Linked DNA regions of Homo sapiens: region 2 is linked to region 1. Evidence: promoter capture Hi-C in human tissues and cell types (Jung and others, 2019). All regions are on one chromosome and are shown on one strand. Each heading gives the region's core, a stretch centred on a gene start or on the middle of the fragment in contact. The rest is flanking DNA. Distances are from core to core; before and after follow the strand shown.

Region 1 (5,596 bases), core at 2,670-5,169:
TAATATAAATGATGTTGTGGTGAAGTTTTCTTTGTTGTTTTTTGAGACAGGGTCCTGTTCTGTCACCCAGGCTGGAGTGCAGTGATGCAATCATGGCTCACTGCAGGCTTGATATCCTGAGCTTAAGCGATCTTTCCACCACAGCCTCCTGAGTAGCTGGAACTACTAATACAAGCATATGCCACCAAGCCTGACTTTTTTTTTTTTTTTTTTTTGAGATGGAGTCTCGCTTTGTCACCCAGGCTGGAGTACAGTTGCGCGATCTCGACTCACTGCAACCTCCACTTCCGGGTTCAAGCGAATCTCCTGCCTCAGCCTCCCGAGTAGCTGGGATTACAGGCATGCACCACCACACCGGGCTAATTTTGTATTTTTAGTAGAGACGGGGTTTCTCCATGTTGAGGCTGGTCACGAACTCCTGACCTCAGGTGATCCGCCCGCCTCGGCCTCCCAAAGTGCTGGGATTACAGGCGTGAGCCACCATGCCTGGCCAAGAATCTTTCTTAGGTTGAGGTAGAAGAATGGTATTTGCACCCCTACTCTCAGCAGCCAAGCAATGAACACAGGTATCTTTTCATAAAAGGAATCAATGAAATACAAAGGTAGATTTAAAAGACTTCAGCAGCTAGGCTAGGTAGTCTCATTTCAGCAAAGAAGTAGGGAATGCGTAATGTTTATAAAGCTTTTTGCTTTTTTGAGCTGGGGTCTCGATGTGTCTCCCAGGCTAGAGTTCACTGCAGCCTCAACCTCCCAGGATCAAGCAATCCTCCCACCTTGGACTCCTAAGTAGCTGGGACTACAGACATGCACCACCATGCCTGGCTAATTTTTTAAAAAATTTTTTGTAGAGACGGGGTCTTGCTATCTTGCCAGGGTTGGCCTTGAGCTTGTGCACTCAATTGATCCTTCTGCCTTGGCCTTCCAAAGTGCTGGGGTTACAGGCATGAGCCACTGCATCTGACCACGTTTATAAAGTTTTAGGAACAAAAAAAAAGTGTTTATACCAGGCACAGTGGCTCATGCCTGCAATCCAAGCACTTTGGGAGACTGAGGTGGGCAGATCACCTGAGGCCAGGAATTCAAGACCAGCCTGGCCAACATGGTGAAACCCCATCTCTACTAAAAATACAAAAATTAGCCGGGCGTGGTGGCATGCATCTGTAATCCCCAGCTCCTTGAGAGGCTAAGGCAGGAATCACTTGAACCCAGGAGACAGAGGTTGCAGTGAGCCAAGATCGTGCCACTGCACTCCAACCTGGGCGAGAGCCAGACTCTGTCTCAACAACAACAAAAAAACGTAGCCGGGTGTGGTGGCTCATGCCTGTAATCCCAGCACTTTGGGAGGCTGAGGCAGGCAGATCACCTGAGGTCGGGAGTTCAAGACCGACCTGGCCAACATGGCAAAACCCTGTCTCTACTAAAAATATAAAAATCAGCAGGGCGTGGTGGTGGGCACCTCTAATCCCAGCTACTGGGGAGGCTGAGGCAGGAGAATCACTTGAACCCAGGTGGCAGAGGTTGAAGTGAGCCAAGATCGAGCTACTTACACTCCAGCCTGGGAGCAAGACACCCCCCTCAAAAAAAAAAAAAAAAAAAAAAAAAGTGGCCGTCACGCCTGTTATCCCAGGACTTTGAGATGCCAAGGCAAGTAGATCACCTGAGGTCAGGAGTTCAACACCAGCCTGGCCAACATGGTGAAACCCTGTCTCCACTAAAAATACAAAAATTAGCCAGGTGTGGTGGCATGCACCTGTAATCTCAGCTACTCGGGAGGCTGTGGCAGGAAAATCGCTTGAACTCGGGAGGCGGAGGTTGCAGTGAGCTGGGATCATGCTGTTACACTCCAGCCTGGGTAACAAGAGTGAAACTCCATCTCAAAATAAATAAATAGGCCAGGTGTGGTGGCTCACGCCTATAATCACAGCAATTTGGGAGGCCAAGGAGGGCAGATCACCTAAGGTCGGGAGTTGGAGACCAGCCTGACCAAAATGGAAAAACCCCATCTCTACTAAAAATACAAAATTAGTCGGGCGTGGTGGTGCATGCCTGTAATCCCAGCTACTCGAGAAGCTGAGGCAGGAGAATCGCTTGAACCTGGGAGGCGGAGGTTGCGGTGAGCCGAGATCACGCCATTGCACTCCAGCCTGGGAAACAAGAGCGAAACTCTGTCTCTAAATAAATAAATGTGTTTACTTCCTACATTTAAAAAAAGGTTTTTTTTGGTAACAAAAGCTACACAAAGAACCCAGAGAACCCACTCAAGAACACCACCACTTACCAGCTCTCTCAGAGCTGACCTTCCAAGCAGAATAGTCCACAGTTCTCTACTGCTCCTGCAAAATGAGAGAACAGAGGTAATTTTGCTCTTTCTGATCATACAAACTTGTACACTGCCTCATAGCCATTTTGTCTGCTCTCTAAAAGCAAAAAATCTCAATATACAAAACGATTTGTTAAATTTTTGGAAAGTAATCTTGTTATATAATAATATTGTTAGGGCCGGGCACGGTGGCTCATGCCTGTAATCCCAGCACTTTGGGAGGTCGAGGCGGGCGGATCATGAGGTCAGAAGATCGAGACCATCCTGGCTAACACAGTGAAACCCTGTCTCTACTGAAAATACAAAAAATTAGCCAGGCGTTGTGGCGGGTGCCTGTATCCCCAGCTACTTGGGAGGCTGAGGCAGGAGAATGGCATGAACCCGGGAGACAGAGCTTGCAGTGAGCCGAGATCGTGCCATTGCACTCCAGCCTGGGCGACAGAGCGAGACTCCGTCTCAAAAAAAAAAAAAAAAAAAAAAAAAAAAAAAAGTGGGGAAAACACTGCTGGCACAGGGAAGGATAAGAGACGGGGATGTTTAACTTTGAGGGAGGGTGGTGGGAAGAACGAAGACCTTCGAGCTGCAATGTGGAAGACAGAAGGAGGCGTGGTGGTCTGGTTATAGCACTGGAGGTACGCAGACTTCAGCTTGAAGGCTCTCTTTATCACTTGGCTAGCTCTGAGCCGGACTTCTGAGTCATCTGTGAAATAGAAGGCGCCTCTCGGAGTTGCGAGAATTGAATGAGATAACTCCTGGGAAGCGCTCCACCAGGGTCTGACGCTAGAAAGCACTTTGTCAGAATTGTAGTTTTCGTATATAATATTTCATCTTCTTGTCCCTAAAGCCTAGTTCAATCCCTGAAATCTCTTGGAGGATTTGGACATGCTGGCTGACTTGATTCAGTGCAAGAAAAGAACGATACGAGGCGCGGAGAGGACAGAAGCCGCAAGCGTGGCTCCGCTCAACGCGAAACAAAATCCTAACAAGAACAGATCGCGGGAGAGGTCGGGGAGCCAGCAGGGCGCACTCGACGCCGGGGCAGGACACTGGGAGCCTGCAGCAGGGACGTGGGTGGGGGGTACCCCAGGAGACCGCAAAGCTCCCCGTGGCTCGAGGGAGCGTCACGGCCGGAGAAGGAAGCGCGGGTGGGGCGCCAAGAGACGCGTCGGAGGTGAGAGAGGAGGAAGGCAAAGGGCCCTGGGTGAGGAGATGGGAGGCCGAGCGCGGAGGGAAGGGGTGAAGAGCCGGCCCCCCTCCTGAAGAAGACTCTTCAGATCCCCGCGCGCGGGGACCGTTTGGACGTAACCGCCTCCCGTCTCGGTGCCCGTCCATCCAGCCGGGGTTGGCCCTGCCACTGTCGCCACATCCCGCCTCCAATTCCCGCCCCGCTTCCGCTCGGCTTTGACACCGCGCTTCACAGCCACCCCGGTCCATTCGACCCGCTCCGCACCTCACACACGGCCCGCCGGCGGCCGCCGCCATCTTCGCGCGCCCGCTCGCCCTAACCCCGCCCCCAGACGCCATGCCCACGTGACCGCTCGCCCCCGGACCCGGAGCGTGGGCGGGGATTTCGTCACGTGACGTTGCCGCGGGGCGGTGCCAAGATGGCGAGGCCCAAAGAGGTGAGGAGCCGGCAGCGGGGGCGGCTGTAACTGTGAGGAAGGCTGCAGAGTGGCGACGTCTACGCCGTAGGTTGGAGGCTGTGGGGGGTGGCCGGGCGCCAGCTCCCAGGCCGCAGAAGTGACCTGCGGTGGAGTTCCCTCCTCGCTGCTGGAGAACGGAGGGAGAAGGTTGCTGGCCGGGTGAAAGTGCCTCCCTCTGCTTGACGGGGCTGAGGGGCCCGAAGTCTAGGGCGTCCGTAGTCGCCCCGGCCTCCGTGAAGCCCCAGGTCTAGAGATATGACCCGAGAGTGCCCATCTCCGGCCCCGGGGCCTGGGGCTCCGCTGAGTGGATCGGTGCTGGCAGAGGCGGCAGTAGTGTTTGCAGTGGTGCTGAGCATCCACGCAACCGTATGGGACCGATACTCGTGGTGCGCCGTGGCCCTCGCAGTGCAGGCCTTCTACGTCCAATACAAGTGGGACCGGCTGCTACAGCAGGGAAGCGCCGTCTTCCAGTTCCGAATGTCCGCAAACAGTGGCCTATTGCCCGCCTCCATGGTCATGCCTTTGCTTGGACTAGTCATGAAGGAGCGGTGCCAGACTGCTGGGAACCCGTTCTTTGAGCGTTTTGGCATTGTGGTGGCAGCCACTGGCATGGCAGTGGCCCTCTTCTCATCAGTGTTGGCGCTCGGCATCACTCGCCCAGTGCCAACCAACACTTGTGTCATCTTGGGCTTGGCTGGAGGTGTTATCATTTATATCATGAAGCACTCGTTGAGCGTGGGGGAGGTGATCGAAGTCCTGGAAGTCCTTCTGATCTTCGTTTATCTCAACATGATCCTGCTGTACCTGCTGCCCCGCTGCTTCACCCCTGGTGAGGCACTGCTGGTATTGGGTGGCATTAGCTTTGTCCTCAACCAGCTCATCAAGCGCTCTCTGACACTGGTGGAAAGTCAGGGGGACCCAGTGGACTTCTTCCTGCTGGTGGTGGTAGTAGGGATGGTACTCATGGGCATTTTCTTCAGCACTCTGTTTGTCTTCATGGACTCAGGCACCTGGGCCTCCTCCATCTTCTTCCACCTCATGACCTGTGTGCTGAGCCTTGGTGTGGTCCTACCCTGGCTGCACCGGCTCATCCGCAGGAATCCCCTGCTCTGGCTTCTTCAGTTTCTCTTCCAGACAGACACCCGCATCTACCTCCTAGCCTATTGGTCTCTGCTGGCCACCTTGGCCTGCCTGGTGGTGCTGTACCAGAATGCCAAGCGGTCATCTTCCGAGTCCAAGAAGCACCAGGCCCCCACCATCGCCCGAAAGTATTTCCACCTCATTGTGGTAGCCACCTACATCCCAGGTATCATCTTTGACCGGCCACTGCTCTATGTAGCCGCCACTGTATGCCTGGCGGTCTTCATCTTCCTGGAGTATGTGCGCTACTTCCGCATCAAGCCTTTGGGTCACACTCTACGGAGCTTCCTGTCCCTTTTTCTGGATGAACGAGACAGTGGACCACTCATTCTGACACACATCTACCTGCTCCTGGGCATGTCTCTTCCCATCTGGCTGATCCCCAGACCCTGCACACAGAAGGGTAGCCTGGGAGGAGCCAGGGCCCTCGTCCCCTATGCCGGTGTCCTGGCTGTGGGTGTGGGTGATACTGTGGCCTCCATCTTCGGTAGCA
Region 2 (5,104 bases), core at 693-3,192, 250 kb after region 1:
GGGTTCACACGAAGCCACATGAGAAGGCAGCCAGGGGCCTGGGAGCCAGGGCTTGTTCCCCTGATGTCCCAATGCCACAGGTAGCAAAGCAGAGGCACAGAGAGGAACTGGGGAGGTCTCCGGGTGCCCACTCCCTGCTCAGCTCCCGGGAGGAAGTAGAAGGCTCTCTCACGGCTTCACCCAGGTTGGAGCCAGGAACAGGAACACCTCCTTTCCAGCCGCCAGCATTTCAAACCAACCGGTGCCAAAGGTGACCTCAGGCCGGGTAACCCATGATGCCCCGCAACACGGGCTGTTGCAGGAACCCCATCTTACCTCTCTGTGTTCCATCTTCTCCTGAGCCCAGTGGAAGGGGCCGCAACCCCAGACTCAGGGACCCCCCCACCCCAGACCTCAGCGGGGCCTGCTGGCCCAGCTGTCAGAGGGCAAGGGCGAGGCTCAGGAAATCCTCTGACCGCCCTAGGCCACAGGGCCAGAGCCAAAGACCGGAGCAAACAAAGGTCCCATGGAGCTGGGGGCCCGGCCACCGGGGTCCTGAGTCACCCAGCTGCCGCTGCAGGGCGGAGCCCCGCAGGAAATCGGAAAATGTGTACAAGCTACGTCTGGAACAGGCGGAGGGACCTCCAGAGGAAGGGGGTGGGAGGGGGCAGACCGAGCCCCAGCCCTGAAGGCGGCCTAAACGACTGGCTTGGGCGCTCAAGGAGTCTACACGCACCCCGCAACACCCCCATGGTCCCGTCTGCCCTGGGTTGGAACTCCAACATGGACACACACACCACCTCCTTTCCGCTCTTTGCGGGGACCCACTCCTGTCCGCAAATGCCCCCCTCCCAACCACTCGCTCCGGAACAGGACACCACCTCTCCCTCCTCAGGAGCAGATAGACATGGCCTCGGTCCTCCGGGCCCACGCGCACCTACTGCCAGCTCTGGCAGGAAACCCAGCCCCCTCCGCATTCTAGAACCCGCTATGTACCCAAAGGTTCCCGCCCTGGGGCGGGGGAGGCCGCTCCCCTCTCATCTACGCTCCCCTCGTGCCTCCTGTGCTCCGGGAAGGACTCCTGCCACTGCCAAGCGCGCACAGACTGCGCCCCCCGCTGCGCGCACATTCTAACCCCCCCAGGCCCCTGTGCCCCGCCTTTCTATCCCGGCTAATTCCCGTCGGCCTTGGAGCCCCACCGAGGAGAACCGACTTAAGGACACTCTGGGGACCACCCTGGTGGCGCACACTGCGGACTCAGCCGTCCTCGCTCACGGGCTGGTTGGGGTTCAGTCTCCGGGTCAGCCGCGGACTGATTTGGAGACTGTGCAAGGTCCAGGAACCACCGAACCCGGAGATCAGGTCTGCTCTGCGAGGGCGTCGCGGGGCCGGGGCCAGGGCAGGGGCAGGGAAGGGGCGCGGGTGAGGGGAGGATCGGGGGAAGCGGCCGCGGTTCGGGGCTCCGGGGCGATGACAGAGGCTTTCTCGCACCCCCCGGGCCCGCGCGCCCCTCCCACGCCGTTCACCTGCCGCGGCGCCCCCTCCTCCATGGCGCCGCTCCGGCCGCTTGGGGCCCTTCTCTCAGCCACTCCGGTCCCGGAAGCCGCAGACCCTCCGCCAGGACTTTCAAACTTGAAACTTCCCGGGAAGCGGCGCCGGAGACGCGGGATCGGGCGCCCCCTCCCGAGACCCGCTGGCCCGCGGGACCAGCGCCGCCTCCCGTCCGCGCCGATCCAGCGCCCGGGACCCCACGCCCGAGGTCCCGCGCCCCAGCGCCTCCCTCGGATCCAAAATTCCGCGGGATTCTGGGCCCAGTACCCGGGCTTCGGCGCCTGCGGTTCCCGCTGGGCGTGACCGCGCCTCACCCCCGGTTTGGACGCTCAGGAGGCACATCGCCCGCGCCCAGGTCCTCTGGCCTTCCCCGCCGCGCGCCCGCGGGAGCCGGCCAGTTAGGGACAGGGATGGGGGAAACAGCGCCCCCTGAAGGTTGCCGGGTCGCCCAGCCGGGTGCAGCCGGTGGAGCTGGCCGCCTCCTCTAACTTTGAGCCCCTCTACAACCTGGCTCCCGCCTCTAACGCGCTGGGCCTCCTCGACCAAGCCCCTCAAGTCTCTCTTTGTCTCGCACGTTGTTGGTGTAATGTGGGCTAATCCAAAATTGTCTCTCTCCTCGGAGTGGTTGGCCCAGACTAGATATTAGTCACTACAAGAATGTATACTAGGCCAGGTGCGGTGGCTCACGCCTGTAATCCCAGCAGTTTGGGAGGCAGAGGTGGACGGATCACGAGGTCAGGAGTTCGAGACCAGCCTGGCCAACATGGTGAAACCCCCGTCTCTACTAAAAATACAAAAATTAGCCGGTCGTGGTGGCGGGCGCCTGTAATCCCAGCTACTCAGGAGGCTGAGGTGGGAGAATCACTTGTACCCAGTAGGCGGAGGTTGCAGTGAGCCGAGATCCTGCCACTGCCCTCCAACCTGGGTGACAGAGCGAGACTCCATCTCAAAAAAAAAAAAAAAAAAAAAAAAAGAACGTATACTTGTGGAAAAGTAAATCCTCACCCAAAATTATGATAAATTACAAATTACAGATGAATGAACCAGACCTCTCTCCGGCCCATCTCTTACTCAGACTGAGCTTGCTGGTTCAGCCCGTGCCACTTTTTAGGGCTTTACCCTAAAAAGCCCATCCATCCACACGGGAGAAAAGCCATTTACACCTGGTGAAATAGCCGCCACTATTTCAGCCCAAGGGAGGTGTGCTGGTCACTGCCTAGTCTATGGCGGGCCATTCAGCCCGTCCTGGCATCCTGCGTTTACAGGAGGTTGTGTCAGCACTTCGTGGAGGAGCGTCCTCCAGGAGGTGGGAAGGTGATGAAGGGTCAAATACCGACAGTGACTTGGAACAGACAGGCTCTGGTGCTCTTACTGAATGAAGGAAGCCACATGTTGTGCTTTGCACTAATCACTTCCTTCATAATGGACTGGAAAAAAGTGAAATTGGTGAGCCATGGACAACACTGGGTTGTCCTGCTATGGGAAATCACCCAAGTGGCATTGACATATAAGCAAAGGCAACTTGGCTCTGTGAAACATGCCCAGATTTCATAATCAGAGGCGAAATGTGACATTTACACATTAGAGTTGTTGAGGTCTAGACATTAGCAGAAGCACCTGGCACATAGTAGGTTCTTTGACATGGGGGTTGGCTGGGCATGGTGGCTCATGCCTGTAATCCCAGCACTTTGGGAGGCTGAGGAGGGCAGATCACTTAAGGTCAGGAGTTCAAGACCAGCCTGGCCAACATGGTGAAATCCCGTCTCTGCTAAAAAAAAATTAAAAAGGCAGCTGGGCGCGGTGGCTCACGCCTGTAATCCTAGCACTTTGGGAGGCCGAGGCAGGCGGATCACAAGGTCAGGAGTTCGAGACCAGCCTGGCCAACATGGTGAAACCCCGTCTCTACTAAAACTACAAAAAAAAAATATTAGCTGGGCATGGTGGTGGGTGCCTGTAATCCCAGCTACTAGGGAGGCTGAGGCTGGAGAATCACTTGAACCTGGGAAGTGGAGGTTGCAGTAAGCCAATCTCGCCACTACACTCCAGCCTAGATGACAAGAGCAAAACTGCATCTCAAAAAAATACATAAAATAAAAAATTAGAAAAACTAGCTGGGCGTGGTAGCGCACGCCTGTAGTCCCAGCTACTCGGGAGGCTGAGGCAGGCAAATCACCTGAATCTGGGAGGCAGAGGTTGCAGCGAGCTAAGATCACGCCACTACACTCCAGCCTGGGCAACAGAGCAAGATTCTGTCTCAAGAAAAATAAATAAATAAAAATAAAATAAAATGGAGGTTAAATGAACGTTATTATCCATCATTTAGAAGCAAAAAGGCTGACCAAGCCCAGTGGCTCATGCCTGTAATCCTAGAACTCTGGGAGGCTGATGAGGCAGGAGGATTGCTTGAGGCCTAAGAGTTCAAGACCAACCTGGCCAACATAGTGAGACACCATCTCTTAAAAAAGTAAAATAAAGAAGTAAAAAAGTCCTCAGCTTCTCACTGCAGCTCATCAAAAACCCAGGAATCAAACTAACAAGCCTTCCCCACCTTTTAGGAATTCTCCAGTGGTGCAATCAGTCCAGCCAGCTAATTAACACTTTAAAATGTGTATTTGCCTTGATGGCTAAATGTTACTTCTGGAAGCCAAGAGTAATCTGAGATAACTCTCCATAGGAGGGTGCTCACATCTCAACTCCCGGCTCATTTATCCACTCACTGCAGGCAGGAAGCTGAATTCGATGGTTTTCCAAGTTTGGTTGGAAAGTGGCTTTGTTTTTTGTTTTTTTGAGAGAGTCTTGCTCTGTCACCCAGGCTGGAGTGCAGTGGCTCAATTTTGGCTCACTGCAACCTCCACCTCCCGGGTCCAAGTGATTCTCATGCCTCAGCCTCCTGAGTAGCTGGGACTACAGGCACATGCCACCACACCTGGCTAATTTTTTTTTTTTTTTTTTTTTCTTTGAGACGGAGTCTCGCACTTTCGCCCAGGCTAGAGTGTAGTGGCTGATCTCGGCTCACTGCAAGCTCCGCCTCCAGGGTTCACGCCATTCTCCTGCCTCAGCCTCCCGAGTAGCTGGGACTACAGGCGCCCACCACCACGCCCGGCTAATTTTTGTATTTTTAGTAGAGACGGGGTTTCACTGTGTTAGCCAGGATGGTCTCGATCTTCTGACCTTGTGATCTGCTCGCCTCGGCCTCTCAAAGTGCTGGGATTACAGGCGGGAGCCACCGCGCTCGGCACACCTGGCTAATTTTTTATATTTTTAGTAGAGATGGGGTTTCACCATGTTGGCCAGGCCAGTCTCGAACTCCTGACCTCACGTGATGCACCTGCCTCAGCCTACCAAAGTGCTGGGATTACAGGTGTGGCTGCCGCGCCCGACCTGGGGAGTGTTTTTCACCACCTTACACAGGGAAGCCAAGTCCTGGACTGCTGGATGAGTCTGACCAGGTAGTTGCACCTTACTTCTGATAGTGATAACACTTCATAAGACTGGAATTCTTAGGAAATTCGTGTTCAGCATTTAGTGGACCGTGAATAGTGCAAACCAACTCTCTAGCCAGTTGGCCTTTAAA

The links. Contacts are between HindIII fragments. The study calls those that stand out against the background at their distance.
Region 2: a contact is called between the fragment with the promoter of PKN3 here and the fragment with the promoter of DOLK in region 1, in 1 of the 25 tissues and cell types used here (dorsolateral prefrontal cortex).

The regions. Positions count from the first base shown.
Region 1 is chr9:128,945,926-128,951,521 of GRCh38, reverse strand. DOLK (dolichol kinase) reads left to right here and starts at 3,919. Exons shown (of 1, transcript NM_014908.4): 1 at 3,919-5,596. The coding sequence starts at 4,219. It overlaps NUP188 (nucleoporin 188), which reads right to left and starts at 3,823. Exons shown (of 44, transcript NM_015354.3): 1 at 3,771-3,823; 2 at 2,279-2,333. The coding sequence starts at 3,802. RefSeq lists enhancers at 3,704-3,753, 3,473-4,034, 4,104-4,173, 4,035-4,596, 4,597-5,159. The HindIII fragment of the contact is 11,289 bases long and covers 1-5,596 here.
Region 2 is chr9:128,699,341-128,704,444 of GRCh38, reverse strand. PKN3 (protein kinase N3) reads right to left here and starts at 1,942. Exons shown (of 22, transcript NM_013355.5): 1 at 1,506-1,942. The coding sequence starts at 1,529. RefSeq lists an enhancer at 1,126-1,665 and a silencer at 1,480-2,049. The HindIII fragment of the contact is 13,608 bases long and covers 1-5,104 here.